Regions from separate parts of the Homo sapiens genome. Here all the other regions are linked to region 3. The links are contacts of gene promoters, found by promoter capture Hi-C in human tissues and cell types (Jung and others, 2019). All regions are on one chromosome and are shown on one strand. The core of a region is centred on a gene start or on the middle of the fragment in contact, and the rest is flanking DNA. Distances in the headings are between cores, read along the strand shown.

Region 1 (2,700 bases), core at 168-2,667, 400 kb after region 3:
TCAGCCTCCCAAAGTGCTAGGATTATAGGTGTGCACCACAGCACCCAGCCTAATAGCTTTAATTTCATTCTATCAGTTAATTTACCAAGTTATTGGGGATGGGAGGGGACCACTCTCCCCACCCAGCTTGGTTAGAAAAATCCAGCAGAGAAGTCAAACAGTCTTACCGCCTCGGAGTTCCTGCGAATCTTCTCCACTTTTGAGTCTGGACGAATCCATGGAGAAAGCTTTCCCACAATTAGCGTATTCCAGTCTGCACTCCCCCACCCAAGAAAGACAAATACTGAATAAGGTTCAGCACTTTACTTGTTCAATTTTTAGTTTTGGGAATCAAGAGTAGAAATGAGAGACAAAGGTTTTTTCTACATAGACATGGGATAGCCTGATGCAGAATAGAGAAGCAAGGAGAAAACAAGTTATCTATATCCCAGGGACTAACAAATATATCCAAGTCAGAAAAGGAGGAGAATGAGGGCCCCGATAAAGCAGAAGTTGTTATTGCCTCTAATAATTAAGGGGCATATGGGATGGTCCCTACCCCTTCCTGACAGCAGTAGGTCTGATCGTGTCTGGGGACCGGGCCGATTCTTAGCAGGTTCCTGAATGAACTCCCTCTTGAAACGCGGATGGAAGACAGGCATGCAGAGGAAATCAAACCTACAACCGCGACAGACCCAGAATCATGTAAAGACAGCAGCAGTGCCAGAGAGCCAAGCAACTGGATTTAGGCTATCTTGATTTTGCACAGCCCTTTCAGCTGCCATCAGTTCAGCCTACTAGGCTGCTGAGTTCAGACCACCTTGGGGGATATCAACTCTGCTGTACTGTGCCTCAATTTCTCCCTAAAACACAGCCATGGGACATATGAGTAAGGAGAAAATGATGGATATCCACAAGTAGAATTTTTTTCTCCTCAGGTGTCAGTATGTTTCCAAGACCATCACATCCAGATTTGCCCCAGTTCTGCCCATGCCTCCCCCGTCAAAATTAGCCTCTTCTCTCCCTTGCCCCCTAACACCTCCTCCCACTCCCAGACAATAATCGCGACCTCCAGGGCCCTTTAGAGTTTACCCAACAACTCTCCCAACTTTGGGACTCAGTGACCACAGGCCTCCCACAAGTTATTTTCCTCACGTTACTGGGTCCGAGGCTCCTCCCCTCCAAAGAGTAATAGTCTCTCCCCTCCTCATCCTAGCCGACCCCCTCACCCCTGCTTCTCCGGGATGACTAGTCTGCCCTTCTCCGTCCCCGAGTTCGGACCCCGCATTCCGCTCGTGGAGGTCCGGCCCTCACCCCTGCTTGGCCACAGCCCCTAGTGTGTCAGCTATTTCGGGGACGCAATTCAGGTCCCTCCCGCTGGACACGCGGCTCCCACCAGCACCCCCGACCGCCATCGCCGCCATCTTTCTCCTCGCGCTGTCCACGCCGGGATTCCTTGATACTAGTAGCCAATCACAAAGTCAAACTAGTGCCCCAGAAGGCGGGACGAGTCGCCTTAACAACCAGAGCGTCTGCCACAGCTCCCGAACAGGAGGGATGGGGAGTGGCTTTTCCTGCCAATCCGCGGGCTGCACAGTGGCGTACGGCATGGATCCACCAATCTCAGGGTCTGGTTCCTGACGAACTTCAATCTCCCAGAATGCTTAGTCTATCTGAAGAACGCCGTTGAGAGACTACACCGCCCATGAAACCCTGCAGTATAACCTTGAAGTACCATCACGGAGAGAAACAGTGCCATCTCAGGGCCAGTGGCGCAATGGATAACGCGTCTGACTACGGATCAGAAGATTCCAGGTTCGACTCCTGGCTGGCTCGGTGGGGTTCCTCGCAGCTTCGCTGCGTGAGCATTTTGTAATTTTCCTTTCCTTTCGCAGCTTGATGCTTCTTTATTATCTTCACGCTTTCATTATCAGATCCTGAGTCGGTTGGGTTATGCAGCCATGTAATGTCAGCTTTTCCCGTAACTACCCTCAAAAGTGTTTTTCTTGTGTCATTATTTACGTCCATATGAACACTGAGAAAACTGGGTTAATGGCTGGTGCTATTAAAATGAGCTTTGTCACCTTACTATGTTACATATTAAAATAAACTGCTAACTCAGCTACTACTTCCTAGTGATTCTAGGAAGTAGTGTTTTGTGTTTCAAACACAAAAGGTGTAAATAAACGCCTAAACACACACACACACCTCAAGATAGAGAAAAGGAATTCATTAATTACAGTGGGCAGCAGTCATGAAATTGGCTGGCATGGAGGCCAGAGAGAATCTACATTTTCTCATGTCATTAGCTGCTAGAGATGGAAAGGAAGGAAGCAAGGAAAGACATAGGGAGGTAAATGGGAACTCCAGAAGGCAGGGGGCCCACTGGTGTTGAGGGCTCGGCAGCAAGGATGGAGAGGAGAACACGGTACAAGAGACCCCACGCAGGCGCCGCTGGCAGAACTTAGGGACCGACTGGCAAGGAGTCCTGAGAAAGCAAAGTAGGGGGTGATGCCTAGGATTCTGTCCATGCAGTGAGCAAGAAATGCGGAAAGAGGGTTTGGGAAATCAGGGTTTGGGTTTGGTCATGCTGAATTGAACGTCTAGGGGGCGCTGTGTAATAGAAAGTTGGATGGAGGTCGCTAGAAGAAAAGAACTGAGGCCATGCGACTGAGATCACCATAGCTCGTTGGGGACAGAGCCATAGGAAATACGAAAAGG
Region 2 (2,700 bases), core at 80-2,579, 420 kb after region 3:
AGAGCACCTGGAGGAAACAGCGTGACAAGAAGACTGACAGTGAGGTCAGTGGCAAAAGAGTAATGCAAAGGTGTAATGTGGCTACAACGAGAACGTGAGCTGTGGGTGTTTTGCCAGAACATGGAGTGCGCTGAAAGGAATGACACCAACACAGGGGCAGTAAAGATGGGCACAGTTTGACCTCAGGAGACAAAAATTTTCCCTTGACATTACTTTTCATGTTTTTGCTCTGCCCCTCCTCTCTGCAAGGTATCAAACTCCAAAGGGCAACTGAGCCTCCCAAAGCTGAACAGGCATTGAAGGTTATTATGATTTAACGCTTCATGTTTATAGAACATTTGGTTTACTCGATCGTTTTATGAGTAACATCAAAGTAACTACTCATTTGTTTTCTAACATGGTCTAGAGGGGGACGCAGCTGAGGAGGCAGAATGCTGGGACTTAATTTGCAGCTCGGCCGGCCGTTGCTTCTGAGAACTTAAGGAAAATGCTTTTTTCTGTGCCAAACTTTTCCCACCTGCAAAACTGAGATAACGATTCCTGCCTTGGATGAGACATTAAGAATTAATAACACAATCGACTTGTCAACAAAAGCCACTACTTAGTTAAGTTCAGTGTTTTAACAATTCTGTTTATCGTTGATCTATGACTGCAAATAAAAAGTTTTGCAGGCAAATTTCGCACTTGGAAATGAAGACCAACCCAAATTCCAAAAAGCTAGCTGTTCGTCCCCCCCTAGGGTAAGTGTCCCCTTGCGTTTTTTAGGGTGCCTTTCTTTACCCTTCTTAAAGGTTACAGGGCGTGAACGGCAATCAGGCTCGATTCTCCACCCTCTGCACTCAGACGTGTTAAAACGCTGCTACAGGGACCCAAGCATTTAAATGTTCTGACTCAGGCGTCTTTTAAATTCTTAGAGCTGTCTTTACACGCTGCACTGAACGTTAAATTGATTTTACAGGTTATTTTCACAAGATATGACCCTTACAGGGCCCGAGATGAATCAAAATGCAGAACGGGCTCTCCGGCGCCTACTTCCCTTCTGTCTGGGCGGCCAAGGATTCCCAAGAGCGACGACGGTCTCCGGCCACTGGCCGGAATGACTCTCCCAGAGCTCCTCTTCCCCGAAGCTCCGCCCGCCGACCCTCTAAAGCAAACCTGCACACCCTGGGGCAGCTGAAGCTCTCAAGGCGGTGCCGAGAACCTCGGCTGGGGCGGGCTGGCCAGCAGCGTCTACACCCCAGAACCCGCCCGCGCCGGGGCTCCGGAACCTCTCGTTCGGGCCGGGCGCAGGGGCTGGGGGAAGCGAGGCCCGGAAAGACCAAGCTGAAAGGCCCGGGAAGGGGAAGGAGCCGAAAGTGCACTAGAGGCCGCGACGAAGGAGGTGGAGGCGGGGCCACACTCGAGGCGGGAACGGCAGGCCCCGCCCCTCGACGGGTGCGCGCTGGGTTCCCAACGCCCTGGGTTCGCATGCTCGGGTGGTGGAACCCGGACTGGGAAACAGGATGGTCTCGGAAAGGCTTTTTTGCCCCTTCTCATTAGTGCCTCCCCAGTGAAGGGCAGATGCTGAGAAAATGGTGGTAATTGCTAACATTTATTGAGGGCCTACGATGAGTCAGGCACTACGCCAAGCATTTTGCTTGCCTTGCCTCGTTTTTTTTTTGAGACGGAGTCTCGCTCTGTCGCCCAGGCTGGGGTGCAGTGGCGCAATATCGGCTCGCTGCAAGCTCCGCCTCCCGGGTTCAAGCAATTCTCTGCCTCAGCCTCACGAGTAGCTGGGATTACAGGTGCCCGCCACCACGCCCGGCTAATTGTTGTATTTTTAGTAGAGACGGGGTTTCACCGTGTTAGCCAGGATGATCTGGATCTCCTGACCTCGTGATCCACCCGCCTCGGCCTCCCAAAGTGCTGGGATTACAGGCGTGAGCTACCGCCCTCGGCCAGGCCTCGTTTAGTTCTTAAAGCGTCCTGTGAGAAAGTCACCATTATACTCATTTTACAGAGGGGGAGAACTGAGGCACAAAGGGTTAAGTTCGAGGTCGCCATTTGGGGGGTCTAAACCTGTCCCAATAGCTCTCGGAAGGAACCTTCCCAGACCTGCCACCCAAGCCGCGTCCTGCGAGTCTCCTCACTAAGGCCTGGCTCTGAGGCGCTGCCGCCCAGCCCAGCCCAGCCCAGCCCAGCCCATGCCGGGCACCATACAGTGCTTCCTCAGGGTCACCTTCCTCTCGAATTCCCACCACAGACTCCCTATTAGCGCGCATTCCTCATTCGCCTGTTTTGTTTGTTTGTTTGTTTGTTTTCTTGGGGGTACGGAGTTTCGCACTTGTTGCCCAGGCTGGAGCGCAGTGGCACGATCTCGGCTCACCGCAACCTCCACCTCCCAGGTTCAAGCGATTCTCCTGCCCTAGCCTCCTGAGTAGCTGGGATTACCCGCACGAGCCACCACGCCTGGCTAATTTTTATATTTTTAGTAGAGACAGAGTTTCACAATATTGGCCAGGATGGTCTCGCACTCCTGACCTCAAGCAATCTGCCCGGCCAAATATCTTTCACCTGTCTTAATCTTTTTTTTTTTTTTTTTCCAGACGGAGTCTTGCTCTGTTGCCAGGCTGGAGTGCAGTGGCGCGATCTCTGCAACCTTCACCTCCCGGGTTCAAGCGATTCTCCTGCCTCAGCCTCCTGAGTAGCTGGGACTACAGG
Region 3 (2,700 bases), core at 25-2,524:
CTAGTCTCTCCAGGTACATGTTGACCCCATCCCACCCATGTTTTCCCCCTATCTGGTTTAAGGCTTCCATATGTATTGCGTGTTATCCTCATGGATTTCATCATCCTTGTTTTATTATCAATGTTCTGTGAATTTAAGATTGAGCCTCCATGGACTCTTCATTTAAAAATGAAAATAGCTAATAGAAGAGTTGGAAATAACAGTAGAACTAATTCACTAGGTCAGGATGGAGAAGGGAGTAATACCCTAGACAATTAGGACAAACGTGGTTTTTCCAGAAATAGACTCACTTCCTGTTTAAAGCCTAGACTGTGGTCTCTCCCCGGGCACCCTTCACATTCCTCTAACCCTCCATATCCCAAATTTAGCTGTGGAATCTTAGACAATCTGTGACCTATGCAGCTACAGAAATCTTTTCTTACTGAGAATATCTGCCTATTTGAACCAAAAGATCCTTGAGAATAGACAGTCTCTAATATTCCATGAAGTGTCTGATATGGTCCTTTTACAAAAGTAAATACTTGATAAATTCTTGCTTAATTGAAGTTAAACACCCAAAGAAATCAGGTTTCCAGGCCAAAGGGAAGAAGAAAATTAAGCAAATGACACAGTACATTTGAGCGTGTAGTGGGGAGGAAGAAATGCTAGATTGGGATTCAAATAGAGCCATGTTTTGGTCTCTGCTGCCAACTAGCAATGTAACTTAGACCAGATCTCTTGCCTCTAAGCCTCAGTTTCTTTATCTGTAAATGGGGAAGTGGGTCCAATGGCCTCTCTGGCCTCTTAGTACAAAAAGTCTATGAATGTATCCCATTTGGGGCACTTTTTTCTCCTAGGAGTAACTCAATAGCTATTTTAAAGCTTGAGTGTTTTCTAACTCATTAGAGCACATCAAGAAGAGGGGTGAAGTGACAAAAGGGAGTTTATTGTGAGGCATCAAACACTGTGATACTCACGGGAGGAGGAAACAAACTCACCTTTGGGACAGGCACTCAGCTAAAAGTGGAACTCAGTAAGTATGAGATTCTATGGTAATTACAAAATGTATTCTGGTGACAATAAGTGGAAGAAAAGGTGATGTAATTTTTGTCATTGTATCTTATTTTTAATCTATTACTGAAGCATTAAGAATTGTGACATCCAGATAAATTAGTGAAAGTATTCAAAGGCTATATAAGCATGCTTTCGTTAGGGTGGAATTTAGCTAACCACTAAGACTTTTTCCAAGATATGAGATTTTCAGCTCTCTTCAACGTGAGAGTTTTTAATACTAGTATTAAGCTAAACGATGCTCAATGGAAGAAAAGAGCTAGAAGAGCAGAAAATTGCACCGTCATGATCAAATAGATCCTTTCTACTTCCACTGCCATGGACTCAGTGGTGCATTTAGAAGAGGGTATTCAAGGTCATTTTAGCCATGCCCCAAAAAAACCACTCCCAATTCATTCCAGAGATTGTGCCCCCTTATGCTAAACATCATCCAAGAAGAGTCAGTGAAGTACAGAGAAAGGAACCCAGGGCTTCTTGTTTCGGTCCAGAGTTCTAGGTTTGATTTGGTCCCAACTGGATGTGTGATATTGGAACGAGTCATTGCCCCTCTCTGCACCTCAGACTCCTCCAGTGGATGAGGGGGTCAAAGCCCTCAAAATCTGTTGTTCTGGGATTTCGCTATTATACCACCCGAGAGTTTATAGGACTCGAGAGTATGGAATCTTGTGAGTATTTCATAAACAAATTCTATGACCCTCAGGAAATAGCCCTGTTAATCAACAACCTAACTTAACATAGAAATAATAACCACCATCTCAGTCCCTACCATGTTTAGATACGATGCTAGATGCATGACATGTAGAATTGTTCATCTGAAATAACTCTGTGAGGTAAGGGGAAGTATCTTATTTTACAAAAGAAGAAACTGAGGCTCAGAGAAGGAAGTGCCCAAGATCCCAAAGCTAGTAAGTAAAGGGCCTAAATTTAAACTTGGGTCTGCCTGCCTGACTAAAAAGCCCTGCTCTTTCTTTTATTTTATTTTATTTTATTTATTTATTTATTTATTTCTGAGACAGAGTCTTGCTCTGTCACCCAGGCTGGAGTGCAGTGCAGTCTCAGCTCACTGCAGCCTCTGCCTCCCAGGTTCAAGCGATTCGATTCTCCTGCCTCAGCCTCCCAAGTAGCTGGGGTTACAGGCATGCGCCACCACACCTGAAAGCCCTGCTCTTTCTACTGCATGATGTCGTAGAGCTTGTGCTCTAGTTTACTTAGAAATGAGAGGTGATGCCAATCACAGTGACTGGTGAAATGCTTGGAATTTATCTTTTCTACTTTAGATATTGCTGTGAGTTAGAGAGGGTGCTTCGGGAAATCTTGACATGGATGCCCCAAGTGTCTAAAGAGTTCTCCTCCCCTTTCAATGACAAAACAAAGTACAGAGTTGCTGGGAGCATTTACCCCAATAGGGAGAAAAGAGAGGGGAGCTGGCTGCAGCCACTCCCTTGTTCTGACTGTCCCTTTCCTTCGCTGTTTCTTGTATTTTCCCCAGGCAGACCAGCCACCAATATAACTGATCTACAAGAGCCTGACTCCTTTGTGAGTTATAGAGAAATGCAGGGTGAAGGCACTTTGCACATAGAACTTTAGCTCTGAGAGACAGCCTCAAAATATCTAGTTCACCCCTCTTTATTTTCCCAATAAGGAAATTAA
Region 4 (2,700 bases), core at 53-2,552, 450 kb after region 3:
TCTCTCACTCACCGAAGTAGTCCTCCCTGGCCTCTGGCTCCCGCATCCGGGCCCGGGCGGCCTCCGGAACGAAAGGACCTGGTGGCTCCTCCAGACCCGACGGCTCAATCCCCGAGGGTTCTCCGCGGGCTCCGGCTTCTCGCCCACCGGTGCCCACCGTCAGGCGAAGCAAAGCTGTTAGCTCGTCCTGGTACCGGGCGCCCACGGCGCAGTCCCCGTAGCCGGTCACAGAGTGTCGTCCGGGTTGCGCCCCCCGTCTCTCCAAGGGCCCCGCCGCTCCCACTCCGGCCCCGGCTAGAGCTCCAGGGCTGCCCAGGGCCGGGGGATACGAGTGGCGGCTTTCCTGGCAGCCGAACCCCGCGGGCCGCTGAGCGTACAATCGGTCCAGGGCGGCGTGGAGCTCCGGGTAGGCGGACGGGACCCCTCCGGGAGAATAGCCTGCCGGTGCTCCGGCCAGGGGTGGGCCAAACAGGCACGGCCCCGCTGGCAAGGGGCTCCCGTGGCGCTGGTCGTAGCCCATGCTGATGCCGCTGGTGCGATTGCTGCAGGGCCGGCTACCTCCAGCTCCGCCAGCCCCCGCCCCGTCCAGCAGCAGGCTGCCCCGGGGGCTGGACGGCTTGCTCGCGTCGCTGGCCGAGCTACTGGCGAAGCTAGAGCGGGGGCTGAGGGCCGGGGCCGTGGGCTCCAGCCGAAAATCGGGGGGCAACGACTGAGGTAGAGGCAAGGCCCGGGTGGGCGGCGGCCCCGCGGGAAAAGAGCCTTCGTAGCGCGGCGCCTCAAAGGAGCCGCGCTGATTTCGCTCAGCGTCCAGGGAACCTTGCTCCCGGGCCGGCTCCAACGGCTCATCCCCAGGTCCCCCAGTAGCTCCTCGGGGCCCTGACTTCCTAGGTCCCCCCAACCCACTTAGGCGCCCCTTGCCCGGCCCGGGGGTCCCGTCAGACCCAGACCGGCTAGATTCACCCTTTCTGCGGCCGAACTTCTCCAGCAGGCGACTGGCTTTCTCTCCTAACCGCTCCATGCCCTCGGGCCTGGGGCCTCTCGCCCCCTCCCCGCCTGGCACCCTGCGGCGTCTCGGCGGCCGGTTCTCTTTCCCTGCAGCCGGACTCTGGTTCCCCAGGGGCACAGGGGAGGCACAGGGGCTTAGCGGGCGGCCTGGATGCCCTGCGCCAGGAATCCCACAGCATCCCCCAGCGGGAGGGGCTGCGTCCCCCCGCGCATCTGGGGCTGAGCGGGGCTAGCAGGGTCTCTGGCCGCGGCTGTCCAGTCCGCAGGTCTATCTGTTCACGCGTCGACTCGCCCGACTGCCCCACTCTCCCCGGCCCCCGCCCCCCTAGCTCTCACGCTAGCCACAGACCGAACTTCTCTCCCAAACTTTTGTCTGCCTGGCCGGATCTACTTTCCTAGGGGGGCGGAGCGCGGTGTGTGCGAGAGCGCCGGGGGTGTCCGCGCAGGGATAGCTGGTGTGCGTGCAGCGGAAGGCGCTAACTGCCCTGGATGTGGAGACCCGCGGACTGGACGTGAGAGGCGGGCAGGGGCAGTTGGGGCAGCTGCCCCTACAACACTGAAGAATTGGAATAGGAAAGAGTGTGGGGGTAGGGGACGGGGACTCTTTGTCTGCAGTTGGAATGCGCGGAGGGGCATGGTGGAATGTGTCGCGTCCCGGGACCGGACGACAGGAGGCATGTTCTGCGCTAGCACCGTGACTTTGTTCCCAGCGTGGGGACTGTGGGAGAGATGGAGAGAGACTGGTACAGAAATGGTGAGACAAGGAGAGAGCCATAAAGAGGAAGACAGAGAGAAAGAAGACAAATGCATAAAGAGGTTCAGAGACGTGTACGTAAAGATAGCCCTGAAAGGCGACGAAGCCCACAGAGAGAGGTGGAAGAGGGAAGAGGTAGCGAAAGAAAGGGAGAGCTGAGGAGCAAAGAGGAGTGTGGACGATGCAGAGACCGAAGGGTGCGCAGACAAAGGAAAGGACAAGCTTGTCCAGAGAGAATGAGAGACAAACAGATAAACTGCAATAAAAAGGCACCACCTTCTGGACCCAAAAGTTTTGTGATTTGTAAAAGCAGTGAAAAGGAGTCAGGAAAATGGGACTAATCTCTACTTTGAGAGGGAGGGAAAGAGATATAGTGTGTATGTAGAAGCAGTGAAAAGGAGTGAGGAAAAGGTTTGGGACTAATCTCTACCTTAAGGGTAGGACAGTTAGAGGGATAGACACCCCCTGGTGTTGGGAAATGAGATTTTTCTCATTTCAGGTGACTGTGGAGATCGAAGGCCTGGTTTTAGGGCTAGCGAACACCTTCTCCCTTTGGTTTTGGTCCACAGAAGACTGGTGATACAGAGTAAGTATTAAGAGGAAGAAAAGAAATGCCGTGTAGAGGAAATTGCAAATGAAAATGATCAGGATGGAAAAGAGGCTGATATTGACTATTTTAAAAGGATCAAGAATAAGGAAAAGAAACCCTGGCTGAAGCAGCCGGGCGCGGTGGCTCACGCCTGTAATCCCACCACTTTGGGAGGCTGAGGCGGGCGGATCACTTGAAGTCAAGAGTTCAGACCAGCCTGGCCAACATGGTGAAGCCCTATCTCTACTAAAAATACAAAAATTAGCCAGGCGTGGTGGCGCACGCCTATAGTCCCAGCCACTCGAGAGGCTGAGGCGGGAGAATCGCTTGAACCCGGGAGACAGAGGTTGCA

What was found. Contacts are between HindIII fragments. The study calls those that stand out against the background at their distance.
Region 1: the fragment with the promoter of PRMT5 here is called in contact with a fragment that was not itself captured in region 3 in 1 of the 25 tissues and cell types used here (dorsolateral prefrontal cortex).
Region 2: the fragment with the promoter of HAUS4 here is called in contact with a fragment that was not itself captured in region 3 in 2 of the 25 tissues and cell types used here (IMR-90 fibroblasts and lymphoblastoid cells).
Region 4: the fragment with the promoter of AJUBA here is called in contact with a fragment that was not itself captured in region 3 in 1 of the 25 tissues and cell types used here (thymus).

Annotation. Positions count from the first base shown.
Region 1 is chr14:22,927,959-22,930,658 of GRCh38, forward strand. PRMT5 (protein arginine methyltransferase 5) reads right to left here and starts at 1,418. Exons shown (of 17, transcript NM_006109.5): 1 at 1,294-1,418; 2 at 539-657; 3 at 168-253. The coding sequence starts at 1,403. It overlaps PRMT5-DT (PRMT5 divergent transcript), which reads left to right and starts at 1,651. Exons shown (of 3, transcript NR_110002.1): 1 at 1,651-1,794. TRR-ACG1-3 (tRNA-Arg (anticodon ACG) 1-3) reads left to right here and starts at 1,743; the gene lies at 1,743-1,815. RefSeq lists an enhancer at 1,262-1,371 and a silencer at 1,782-1,871. The HindIII fragment of the contact is 24,447 bases long and covers 1-2,700 here.
Region 2 is chr14:22,955,761-22,958,460 of GRCh38, forward strand. HAUS4 (HAUS augmin like complex subunit 4) reads right to left here and starts at 1,330. Exons shown (of 10, transcript NM_001166269.2): 1 at 1,156-1,330. MIR4707 (microRNA 4707) reads right to left here and starts at 1,269; the gene lies at 1,190-1,269. RefSeq lists enhancers at 1,022-1,151, 1,534-2,113, 2,114-2,692 and a silencer at 2,492-2,700. The HindIII fragment of the contact is 8,338 bases long and covers 1-2,700 here.
Region 3 is chr14:22,532,549-22,535,248 of GRCh38, forward strand. It overlaps TRA, TRAJ11 and TRAJ10. Among named protein-coding and RNA genes, the nearest start is that of LINC02332, 23 kb to the right of the region's middle. RefSeq lists a silencer at 578-627. The HindIII fragment of the contact is 7,292 bases long and covers 1-2,700 here.
Region 4 is chr14:22,981,249-22,983,948 of GRCh38, forward strand. AJUBA (ajuba LIM protein) reads right to left here and starts at 1,303. Exons shown (of 8, transcript NM_032876.6): 1 at 13-1,303. The coding sequence starts at 1,018. RefSeq lists enhancers at 352-1,317, 1,318-2,283. The HindIII fragment of the contact is 6,187 bases long and covers 1-2,700 here.